3 separate regions of the Homo sapiens genome follow, and regions 2 and 3 are each linked to region 1. Evidence: promoter capture Hi-C in 16 types of primary human blood cells and fetal thymus (Javierre and others, 2016). All regions are on one chromosome and are shown on one strand. Each heading gives the region's core, a stretch centred on a gene start or on the middle of the fragment in contact. The rest is flanking DNA. Distances are from core to core; before and after follow the strand shown. Region 1 holds the start of KMT2E-AS1 (KMT2E antisense RNA 1). Region 2 has its middle 43 kb from the start of SYPL1. Region 3 overlaps CDHR3 (cadherin related family member 3).

Region 1 (3,436 bases), core at 361-2,860:
GCTGCAGACAAACGCACTGCATGGGGTGTGGAGGACCCGAGCTGATTAGATTACCACAACATCAGCCTGGGGCCGCCATTTTTAGAATCTGTAAAGGACAAAAGAGGGAAATTTCAGTTTTTACTCCCCATCTCAGAAATTGAAGGAAAAAAACAGACTATTTTCCAAATAGGTATTCATGTCTCCAGCCTCGAGTTGAATGCACCTCACTTAATTCTCTCCAAGGTCTCCAGAACTCCAAACACCTTACCTTATTCACATCTCTAAAAAGGGAACAAAATAGGCAAAACGAGGTTTACTCTAGAGCTAACTCTAGCGATTCCTCTTTGACTTTAAATTGTATCGTTCTTAAGACAGAGCCCAGCAAGGACGGATCTATACGGAACTAAGGCCAGTAGAAGAGAGCACTCTGGATTGTTTTTTTCTCACCCCCACCCCGTTTAGCACAGTGAACCGTTTGTTTCTCATCTGTGTCTGCTGCCATAGAATTTGTGCCAATCCCTTGGTCAAAATAAGCTTTTCTGAAATGAGCCATATTGTAGATCCTAAGGCTCCGGCACAGTAAAGGACGGCGGTAATGCAAAAGGAGTGGGGGAGGAGACTGAGAAGGCTGGGTACTGGGGTGACCACTTCAGGGGCGGGTTTACCCTCTCCAGGAGAGGATGAGGAGCTAGCTGTCTCGCTCTCCCACAAAGAGAGATGCCCAGGGCGTTCTTCTTACCCCCTTCGTATTCATGTGCACATTATACCAGAGACTGCCCGTCAAGAAATGGAAGAAGAAAATGGGGCCTATATGGCTTTTCAGCACCTGAACAAGACGCGGTTGAGAAAAGGGAGCGCTGGCAGCTCCTGGGACCACTTCGACACAAACCCTACTAACAGTCACAAGCCTCCGTCTTCACTCAAGCGGCCTTAACCCGCTGCCAATGAGGAGTGCGCCCCCTCCCTAACTCCCCCACTCTCAAGGGGGTTTAACTGCCAGTTACCCCTTTCCCAACCCTAAAACCCGCCATAATGCTCCATTTCTAGGGTCAGGGAGAAGAAAGAATAAATTCGATTTAAGCAAGCAACGTCTTGCGCCGGCAAAGACACCTGAGAGTCAACGTCGGCTCCCCCAGCTTAAGGATAAAGATGAGAGACCTCCCTCCCCCTTGAAACACAAGTACCCCAACCCCGCAAGCCCCAGGAACTCCCATGGAGACGACAGGCACTAACCTGTGATGTTCACACACGAGACACCCGAACCCCGTTATGTGCTCGACCCCCAAGGAGTCTCTCCGCACCTCCGCGAACAGGCGACCCCCCGACAGCAGCCACTGCGGACACAGGACCCGGCTCCACACACCCCCTCCCCAAACAGCAGCGCGCAGCCTCTTCACCAGGAACCGAGGAGTAGGGGAGGGGGCAGCCAGGCAGTCAACAGGAACGCAGAGACGACGGCGAGGCTGCTCGGAGTGTCTATGCCCACTCTGTTGCCGCTCCCGAACTCCGGCACGGTCTCCGACTCGGCCCCCTGCGCCCGCTCAGTGTCACTGCCTCTCGCTCTGGGAAAATGGCGGCGGCGGCGGCGGCGGCCGCGGCGGCGGCGGCGGCGGCGGCAAGTGCACGGGGTACGCCCGTCCCGCTCCGCAGGGGCAGAGGGGGAGGGGATGAAGCTGCCCGGCGCCATTTTGCTTGTGGGCTGCCGCCCGCCGTTGCCTCTCCGCGGAGGCTCGAAGATAGCAAACTGGAGGCGGTGAGGGGGACGGAATCTCTGTCTTTCTGACAACAGATGCATTCAACAATCCACCGAAGGTTTGAGGAAGTGTCGGTATTCGGTGGGACTGGTTCTTTCCCCCTTTCCCCCAGTGGCCCTCAAGTCTGGATATAGGTGAGCTTGGGCATGCCAGTATTGGGTGCACGAACAAGGACAGCAGGGCTTGGGAACGAACTCCCTCCCGTCACCCTCCGAAAGCGATACACCTTCTCCCCCTCCCAAACAACCCCAGTCCCGTCTCCCCGTTCCTCTCCCCCTCCTCCCCCAGCCCAGTCTGGCCTCCAGCGCTGGGTGAACCCGGTTGGGGTGTCACTCGACGCCCACTAGGGGCTGAGGAGGCTCCAGTGCGCAGGCTCCGGGCACCGGATAAAAGCGGAGCTGGCGAGTCTAGTGCTGTCTCGATGGAGGAGCAAGAAACGGAAGAGGTCGGGGGGAGAAGCAGCCGGAAAAATGCAGCCACCGTCAACGCCGCCTCCCTGCCACCGTGCTTCGGGGTAAAAAGCTGCCGTTGCCGTCGGTGCAGTTGCCGTCGCTGCCTCCTATACTTCTCTTGGCCTCGGGGAAGGATTTCCCCACCGGTGGGACAATGTGCGGGGAGGGGAGTGGGAATTCCTTTATATGGCGGTGATTAAACGAGGGAGGGACAGACAGTGATCTCGAAGAAAAAAGGGGGAGACCAAAGAATAAAAGAAGGGTTTCCCCACTAAAATGACACGGCGATTCCGGCTCTTGTTTTGGGGGTCTTTCCCCGAAATGGTTTCCGTCTTCCCCTTGCCCCGCAGCGACCCAGAGCGCTGGGGGAAGCGGAGTGGGGAGAGGCAGAGGCGGTCTCGGCAGCCAATCAGCGCCTGATGTGTCCTGTCGGGCGCGTCGTGGTTGGCTGGCGATGACCTCATCCTGCAGCAGCGGGTGGGGCCAAAGCCGTAGGGGGAGGCTGTTGCAAAGGTAGAGAGGGAGAAGTGACGATGGTGATCGTTGCTGCCGCGGCCGATATGGAACCCAAGCAGTGGCGAAGGGAATCGCAAGGCTCTTCCCTGACCATTTTCTACTGTCCCTGCGCGAGGTGAGGGCCCCGGCTCGGCCTCTGCAAAACTTTGGGGCGCTGGCGCGGAGGAGGAGACAGGATTTCTCCCGTGACTTTTGTAACTGCGTCAGGGCAAGATGGCGCTGGGTCTCTTTGGGGCGCGGGGGGAGAGGCACGTCCACCGCCGCAGCGCATGTGACCGGGCTGCATTCCTGTGGGGTTTGGCTCCGACCCAGGCCGGGGCGGGGGAGGGGACAGGGCTTGGGCGGAGGAGACTGTGGTGCGGTCGGCGTTGGCGGCCTGAAGAGGAAGAGATGACTGTTGGAAAGCGTTCCCCTCCCCCATACGGCAGAACAGCTGCGGCTCCCAGGGGAAAGCCCCCGCAGGACAGTCCTCGTGGGGTGTGACGGCTGTTGGTGGAGAAGGTTTGGCGCCCTATTTTCTTATCTGCCTTTCTCCCCGCAAAGTATACTTATGTAAGGTGGTAGTTCCCTGACGTGGGACTCGGAATCAACTAGGAGTCCTTGAGGGCCTCTGGGAGGCCTAGCGAGGGGTAGACCAGCTTCTGGGGGTACAACGTCAAGGAGGATCGATTACTTTCTGAGGAAACAGTTTCTCAGATTGAAATAGAAAAGTATTTCCAAAGTTTGGAAACA
Region 2 (3,436 bases), core at 512-3,011, 1.1 Mb before region 1:
GCCCAGGCTTGTTGCAGTCACCCATTTAATCGCTCATTCAACTTGAGTGTACTTATGGGGCTCTGGCCAACTGCCAGATGAGAAAGACGCAAGCCCCTCTCAGGAACTCACAGTGTAGCGAGGAGGTAATAGGTTAATGCGTGGTTTCCAGGGAGAAGTTGGAGCTCAGATAGGGGTCAGCAGGAGTGGTTAGGGAAGCCCAGAGAAAAGACCCCAACCCAGCTAGGCACAGCTAAAGAGAGACAGTAGGCACTGCACTGGGGGAAGGAGAGAACTCGTCTACCAAGCAGGTACACTGCCCTGGTCAGGGCTTGCCTGCCCTGGCCTCTGTTTCTTCACCTGCCAGATAGGCAGTTAGAGCAGTGACTCTAAGCCCCTGCCAGACTGATATGTCTGTGGCTCCCTTCACCCACATCTCTGCAGAGCTCAGTAGCTCTCAAAAGGTAGAGCCCAGCCTCAGGGCAGCGCGGTGGTGTATGCTGGGGCTGGGATGTGTCAGGGTCATCCTAACTCCAGGATGCAAAGGTGGCCATTGCTGGCCCCAGGGTTTCATAAATTGCTCCGCACGTGGAGAGTCTGGTGTTGGCAGCATTGGTTCTGATATCCTGCCAACTGAGCATGACGCACAGGCCAGGTGGAATTCAGGGCATGTGCTCACGGAGGAACCACCGTGGATTCTGGCTGTGGCAAAGGTGCTGCAGATTTGCGCCTCAGTTGATTTGTTCCAGGATGGCGAGCACCATGGCCAGCCACACCCCAGGGAACATTCCCCCTGCTCCCTCAGCACCCAGCAGCCTCGCAGCCCAGCAGCCCAGCCCCGCAGCCCTCTCTGGCCATTGATTGCTTAGGCAGTACCTGAAAGAAATCTCACCTCATCTGGTCAGCTAGCCTGGGCTTATCTGTAGGGAATTTCACATCCGCTTCCCCCACCAAAAGACACACATCATTTTGTGTAAATGTGAAACTTCAGGGACTCTTGCCTCATAAATGCATGTGTTTTTTTCTTGTATGCAGTGCTATTTTCAAGACCAATATTTAAGTCTTTCTGATGAATTCCTGCCCATCTGTCAAGATTTAGCTTGAATGGCCTCCTCCTACCCATTCTATGGGCTCCCATAGTCCTTTGTGCACTAGAGCTTGAGAGCACAGCCTTGCAATTTATCTGCTGACACGTCCATCTCACCAGCTGGTCCTGAGCAGATTCTCAAGGGCGGGAACCTTACAGTGGCGGGCTTCCATCACCTAATACTAAGGCCTCTGCTGACACCAAAACTCTGTAAATGTTGCAGTCAATTCTAAGTGTCTTTTTCTCAACTGTTCTCATCTTACTTTTTATGGTTTCAATGCCTTCCACAATGGTTTACTCTCTTATTTAGACTTCATCTATCTCACTGAATGGTGGTGTTGGGTCACCTGGGGTCAGAAAACCAGTGCAAAAATGCTGCCACTCTGGCTGTTACTATTACTGGAAGTGAAGAAACTGTCCTTCTTCTCTGACCCAGGAGCCTCATGTCTTCTACCAACATCCGTGAAATTTTGGCATGTGTGATTATTACCTGCACATGAGATAAGATCTCAGTTCTTGATGGTATGGAATGCTGCAGGGAGAGGAAGTGTGCGTGCACAGGCCCAGAGGCCTAGGGGAGCCCAGCCTGCTCTCGGAACTGCCAGGAGAGCAGATGACTGTGGCACACCCTTGCTGTGTGGGGTGGCAAGCAGCCTCTTCCTTCAGGCTTCTGCCCAAATGTGATCTCATTAGAATGGCCTTCCTTAACCATCCCAGCTGACACAGAATCCCACATCACTCCCTGTCTCCTATCTTGCTTTTCTGTCTTTCACATGTATACCACATCATCTCATATATTTGTTTGTTTGTTGTCTGTACTTCCCTACAAAATGGCAAATCCCATCGGCGAAGGAACTTTGTTTCATTCACTGCTGTAATTAATTCTACCACTTAGGACAGTGCCCCGCATAGAGAGATGAGGCTGTCAGGACAGGCAAGCCTGGTTTGCATCATGGGTTACAGCCTGTAAGCCATGCCAGGAGCCTGGGTGAATCCTGGGAGGTTTAGAAATTCTTTTAAGTATTCTATGATTTGCATTTTAGGGCCATGATCCCTTCAGCAGCTGGCAAGTTCATTGAAGGGAGGGCAAGACCACAGGAGTCTGGGAGAGCAGGTGGGAGGTGGGCGCATCATCTAGAAGGAGGATGTTAGTGTGGATTTAAGACACTGGGCTGGAGAGGAGTGGAGGAGTGTTAAAGCTATCAAGTAAGGAGAATTGACAGGGCTTGGTGATTGATTGGATGTAGAATGCAGGGGAGTAGTGGTCACAGATGGTGATTTGGGTGACTGGCAAATGGTTTAGGGGGGTTCAGAGGAAATGGGGGGTATACTTAGAGATAGGATGTTCAACTGGGGCAAAAGTTTGACTTACTATTATCTGCTGAACCGTGAGAAGAGCTGTTATCCTGTGATCATTTCTCGACATCAATCCGATGGCAAGTAGTCTGTTGCTGGTGCCAGGGTCAGAATGTGGGAGTGTCTTAGTCCTGCGGTTCACAGACCCCAAAGGAGAAGCAGGTTACAGGGATTTCTGGTAGTTGTTTCTGATGCCAGCTCCAGGTTAGACAGTCCTCATTCAACCTGACCCTTTAACACTTCTCCAATTTCTGTTTTTCAATATTTTTACGTTTTTAATTTATGTCCCATAAAATGCACAATTTTGAGCGCACATCACTGTGAATGTTTATCTACGCATACACCCATGTAACTACCCAAACCAAGATTCGCAACATTTCCACAGCCCCAGAAAGCTATCTGTGCCCCTTCCAAGTCCAAAGTAAGCATGCTTACCCAAAGGTAACTGCTATCTGACTTCCGTCATCTAGGATTAACATTGCTGATTCTTGAACTCCATTATAAATAGAATTACACAATATGTACTTTTTTATCTGTGTCTTGTTTCTTTCAACATCATGACTGTGAGGTTCACATTTCAAAAATTTGCTGTTTTTATAACTGTGTAATATTCCATCGTATAAATATGCCATAATTTGTTTACCATTCTCCTGTTGATGGGCATCTGGGTTGTTTGGAATAAAGCTGCAATAAACTTTCTTGTCCAAGTCCTTTTTGCAGCTGCTGTCTTTTGGCAATTCCAGGAAGGCCTGTGTTTTGTGTATGTGGATGCGTATTATTAAAGGAAAACCTTCTTGACAAGGCCTTGAACTCGCTGCTGGCCTCTGCCTGGGGTACCTTTGAGGATGAGCAGCTCCAAGGAGCAATGGACAGAAGCTCTAAATCACTAGTGACCAAGGGTAATGTCACATCCCCTCAATTATTTGTTTTTATTAGAGATCAGGAGAATTTGGGGGAAACCTAAAAGTGATTTTGAGCAGTTATTCTCATGCACTTATAAAGACTTTTACCTCT
Region 3 (3,436 bases), core at 322-2,821, 1.0 Mb before region 1:
CCTAATTTCATGGATATTGACTTGCAAAGACTCTTCTGAACAAGCAGAGAGGGGTTGTGAAGGTAGCAACTGGCAGCATGCCCATGGAAATCAGCTCCTGTGCCACAAGCCACACAGATGGTTGAGGTCTGATCTCTCACAAGTCTCTGCACAAACAACACACTCTTCTCTACCAGAACAGGAAATGTTAGTGGTTGAGTTAGCGGTTATGAGTCTGAGGTCTCACCAGATTTTTGCCACCCTGCAGCTACTCCAGTCCAGCCCATGGTTGCCATTTTTGGCAACATCCTAATACCTCAACTCTTCAGTCCACCCCACATACCTCCAGGCCGGGGAAAGAAGTCCATCAACATAACTCACAAGGGAATGTGCCTGGGGATTCCAGGTCCTAAAGCCCTTACCCTGGGGGTCGTGGTGATGATAGTGGTTGGGTGGGGAATGACTTTAATACTCAGTGTCACTGTTCCTGTCTCAACAAGAGCCTCCGCTTTCTTCCTGTCAGACATCAAGTTGTCATCAGTTACGTAGACAAGTAGCTTGTAGTCCCAGATCTTATCAAACCCACCAGCATAGTCAAAGCGAGATGTAAGCAGCAGGCGTGTGACATTGGAACCAGCATTGGGAGAGAAGGTGAAATGATTGTTGACGTTACCTAAATGAGATTTGATGCAGGGGTGTTGGTAAAAGGAAGAAAAGAGAGTAAGAAATAAAGGTTTAGAAGAAAACTGCATTCAATCTTTTTCTCAAATGTCCACACCTCAAGTGTAGACTGTGTCTCTGATACACCAGAGCTGGATTAGTTATATGCTACAGGCTTTAACTGCACCAGAGATGGCATTAGTACAAAGAAACTCTTGCTCACAACCAGTGTGGCTGCAAACAAGGCTGAGTAGAAAAGGACAATAGTACAACACCCTTAGCCTAGGTGCCATCTTGCTGAGTATTAAGCAGAGACTTTGTAACCCTGGTGCAGCCCCTTCTGATTTCTCATCCGGCAATTATTTGGTAACAACACGTGTAATTCACACTCAAACAAATGAGTGGGTTTCAAGAGGGTAGAATAGGTCACATCCCTAGCCATAGGCCAAGTTCACTGCATGCTTTTCACAGGACCCAGTGGGTCACACTGGTTATGGCTGTCCCTGGAGTCCTCCAAAGGAAGGTGCCTCCTGGCTTTGCGGGAATTGCAGTCCCAGGTCCTCCTGAACCCACCCCATCACACCCCCAAACACACACACAGCTCTGCTGGGGCTCATGGCTCAGCTCAGGGAGCCTGGGGCAGAGAGGCTGCCAGCCCAAGCACATGCCCGCTCATTCCTCCACTGGCTCCAGACTCATTACCGACTGAACACCAGTAAATGGAGCAGGAGATGATGCAATTTTTGCTCCCTTAACAGCAAAATGCTCCATAAAGGCCTTAGGGCTCTCAGTATGGATTGTTTCCATCTTCGGCAACTGCAGTCTCGAGGCAGTTTCTGCCCCTGGGTTTTGTGACACAGCCAGCTCGAGAGGCTTCCTACTGTTCAAGTTCCTGCTCGGCCAAGGGCACAGCAGGCAGCAGGGATGGATTTTTACTCTCTCACGTGGAATTGTTCTGCTTGTTTGGGTTTAAATCTCTGGCCCCAGCACTTCATTAGATGAGCTATTTTGGTCTAATTTCCATTGAGGGGTGCTCTTTTTTCCCTACGATGGTATATTTTTAAAGACAGAAGATGAATGGAGCAGAAGAGAATTCCTGAGGACACGTTTCAAAACGCACTTAATCTATTTAATCTATTATTATCCAGAGAGAGGACTGGGATTCCCTGCCCCCACTACCAGCTTTCAGGAAAAGAGGTGGTCGAAAAGTTGGACTGCATTTTTTCTAACAACACTAATATGCTTTATGACTCATACTGTAGTCAGGAATTGGGGGGTTCACCCTTTTCTTGGGCCTTTGGGCAGTCACGTATGGGGTCTGGGAGGAGTAAGACAAGAAGGGGAAACTGAGAGGAGTGCCAGGAAGCATAGGGGCTGCTAGATTTTGTGTCTCTGCTTTCCTCATTCAAATACTTCCCCAGCAAGCTGGGTGCAATGAGGCATGCCTGTAGTCTCAGCTACTTGGGAGGCTGAGCAGGAGGATTACTTGAGCCCAGGGGTTCAAAACTAGCCTAGGCAGCATAGCAAGACCCTATCTCAAAAAAATAATGCCCTCCCAACTCCCATCCCACTTTGCCCAGATCAGTGTGTGAGCACAGACCCCTACCCTAGACAACTTCAGGGTCCTCAGAGACAGGGCCAGGATTGTCGACACCAAGTACTATACCTGGGCCAATGGAATAACGGAAAGATCTGGGGCTGGAATCAAGGTCGGTACATGTCAGCTTGAAATTCTGAATATTTGTGCCAACTTTCAGATCCACTGGGAGGGCCAGGAAATAAGAGTTTGGAGTACAAATTGGCTTTTCATCATTTTCTTCAAGGATGTTCACAGTAACCTAGAGTAGCAAGAAGGTGGTCATTCTCAATAGCTAAAACTCATTGAGTGCTTACTGTGTGTAGGCAGTTTTCAGGCTAAGCACTTTTCATAAATTAGCTCATTTAAACTCACATGAGATAGCTAACATGATTATTCCCATTTTATGGTGAGAAAATGGAAGTTTAGAGAGACTAGGTAATTGATCTAAGATCATTCAGCTAGTGAATGGCAGAGTTGGGATTTGAATTCAGGTCTGTCCTACTCCAAATCCTATGCTATTAACTTCTACACCATATGCATGTGTGTGTGCACATTTAGTGTATGTATACCTTGCCCCCCCCCCACACACACACACATGCACCTGGACACATAGGCTCACCTGCAGATGACACCGAGTTGTTTTTCCAGGAAGGTGTGGATTTACGGTGTCTCCATGTGCCACCTTGCCTGCTGCCCCTTGTAAATGGAACTTCTTTAACTCTGGCATATGCAGAAATGGTTCTCAGCCCTGGCTCTGCTTTCTTGGGCCCACTTCAGAACCAATAGATTGGAGGGTGGGGGTCAGGGCCCTCATTGATGTTCCCTAGCTGATTCTAATATGCAGCCAGGGCTAAGACTCACTGGGACAGAACAAGCAGGCCTGGTTAAGCTGGGATCTCATCTGTAACCTGGGCTATTAGCACTGTACTAAGCCCTAGAGCTAACCTGCCATAAGCAGGGGCCAGCCTATTCTCTTTCATCGCTGTCTTTTATGCCTGGTAAATTGGAATATAGCCTGGGATGCCTGCCAGCACAGAATCATAGAATGTCAGCCCTGAAAGGGACTTGTGTGATCGTTTAGTTCATCACCCCTTTTAAAAAGCTTATGAATTTTGAGTCATATTCATACTACCTTTGAAATTTGGGATTTCAGCTATTTCTGAGCCCGGGAATAAATTGAAATGTTCACTCTAGTTAGCCCCCAGAGTGGAGTCCATT

Evidence for each region. The method cuts DNA at HindIII sites, captures the fragments that hold promoters and counts their contacts. A CHiCAGO score of 5 or more calls a contact.
Region 2: a fragment that was not itself captured here is called in contact with the fragment with the promoter of KMT2E-AS1 in region 1 in 3 of 17 cell types (fetal thymus, total B cells and naive B cells); the score reaches 7.5 in fetal thymus.
Region 3: a contact is called between a fragment that was not itself captured here and the fragment with the promoter of KMT2E-AS1 in region 1, in 1 of 17 cell types (non-activated CD4 T cells). The highest score is 5.4, in non-activated CD4 T cells.

Annotation. Positions count from the first base shown.
Region 1 is chr7:105,012,315-105,015,750 of GRCh38, reverse strand. It overlaps KMT2E-AS1 (KMT2E antisense RNA 1), which reads left to right and starts at 1,610. Exons shown (of 1, transcript NR_024586.1): 1 at 1,610-3,436. It overlaps KMT2E (lysine methyltransferase 2E (inactive)), which reads right to left and starts at 1,546. Exons shown (of 27, transcript NM_182931.3): 1 at 1,216-1,546. RefSeq lists enhancers at 1,227-1,456, 1,717-1,836, 2,157-2,206, 1,998-2,537, 2,627-2,996 and silencers at 1,517-1,606, 1,957-2,006. The HindIII fragment of the contact is 4,615 bases long and covers 519-3,436 here.
Region 2 is chr7:106,067,423-106,070,858 of GRCh38, reverse strand. No RefSeq gene overlaps it. Among named protein-coding and RNA genes, the nearest start is that of SYPL1, 43 kb to the left of the region's middle. The HindIII fragment of the contact is 5,331 bases long and covers 1-3,436 here.
Region 3 is chr7:106,019,414-106,022,849 of GRCh38, reverse strand. CDHR3 (cadherin related family member 3) reads right to left here. Exons shown (of 19, transcript NM_152750.5): 13 at 2,306-2,477; 14 at 402-652. Among named protein-coding and RNA genes, the nearest start is that of CDHR3, 58 kb to the right of the region's middle. The HindIII fragment of the contact is 3,503 bases long and covers 1-3,322 here.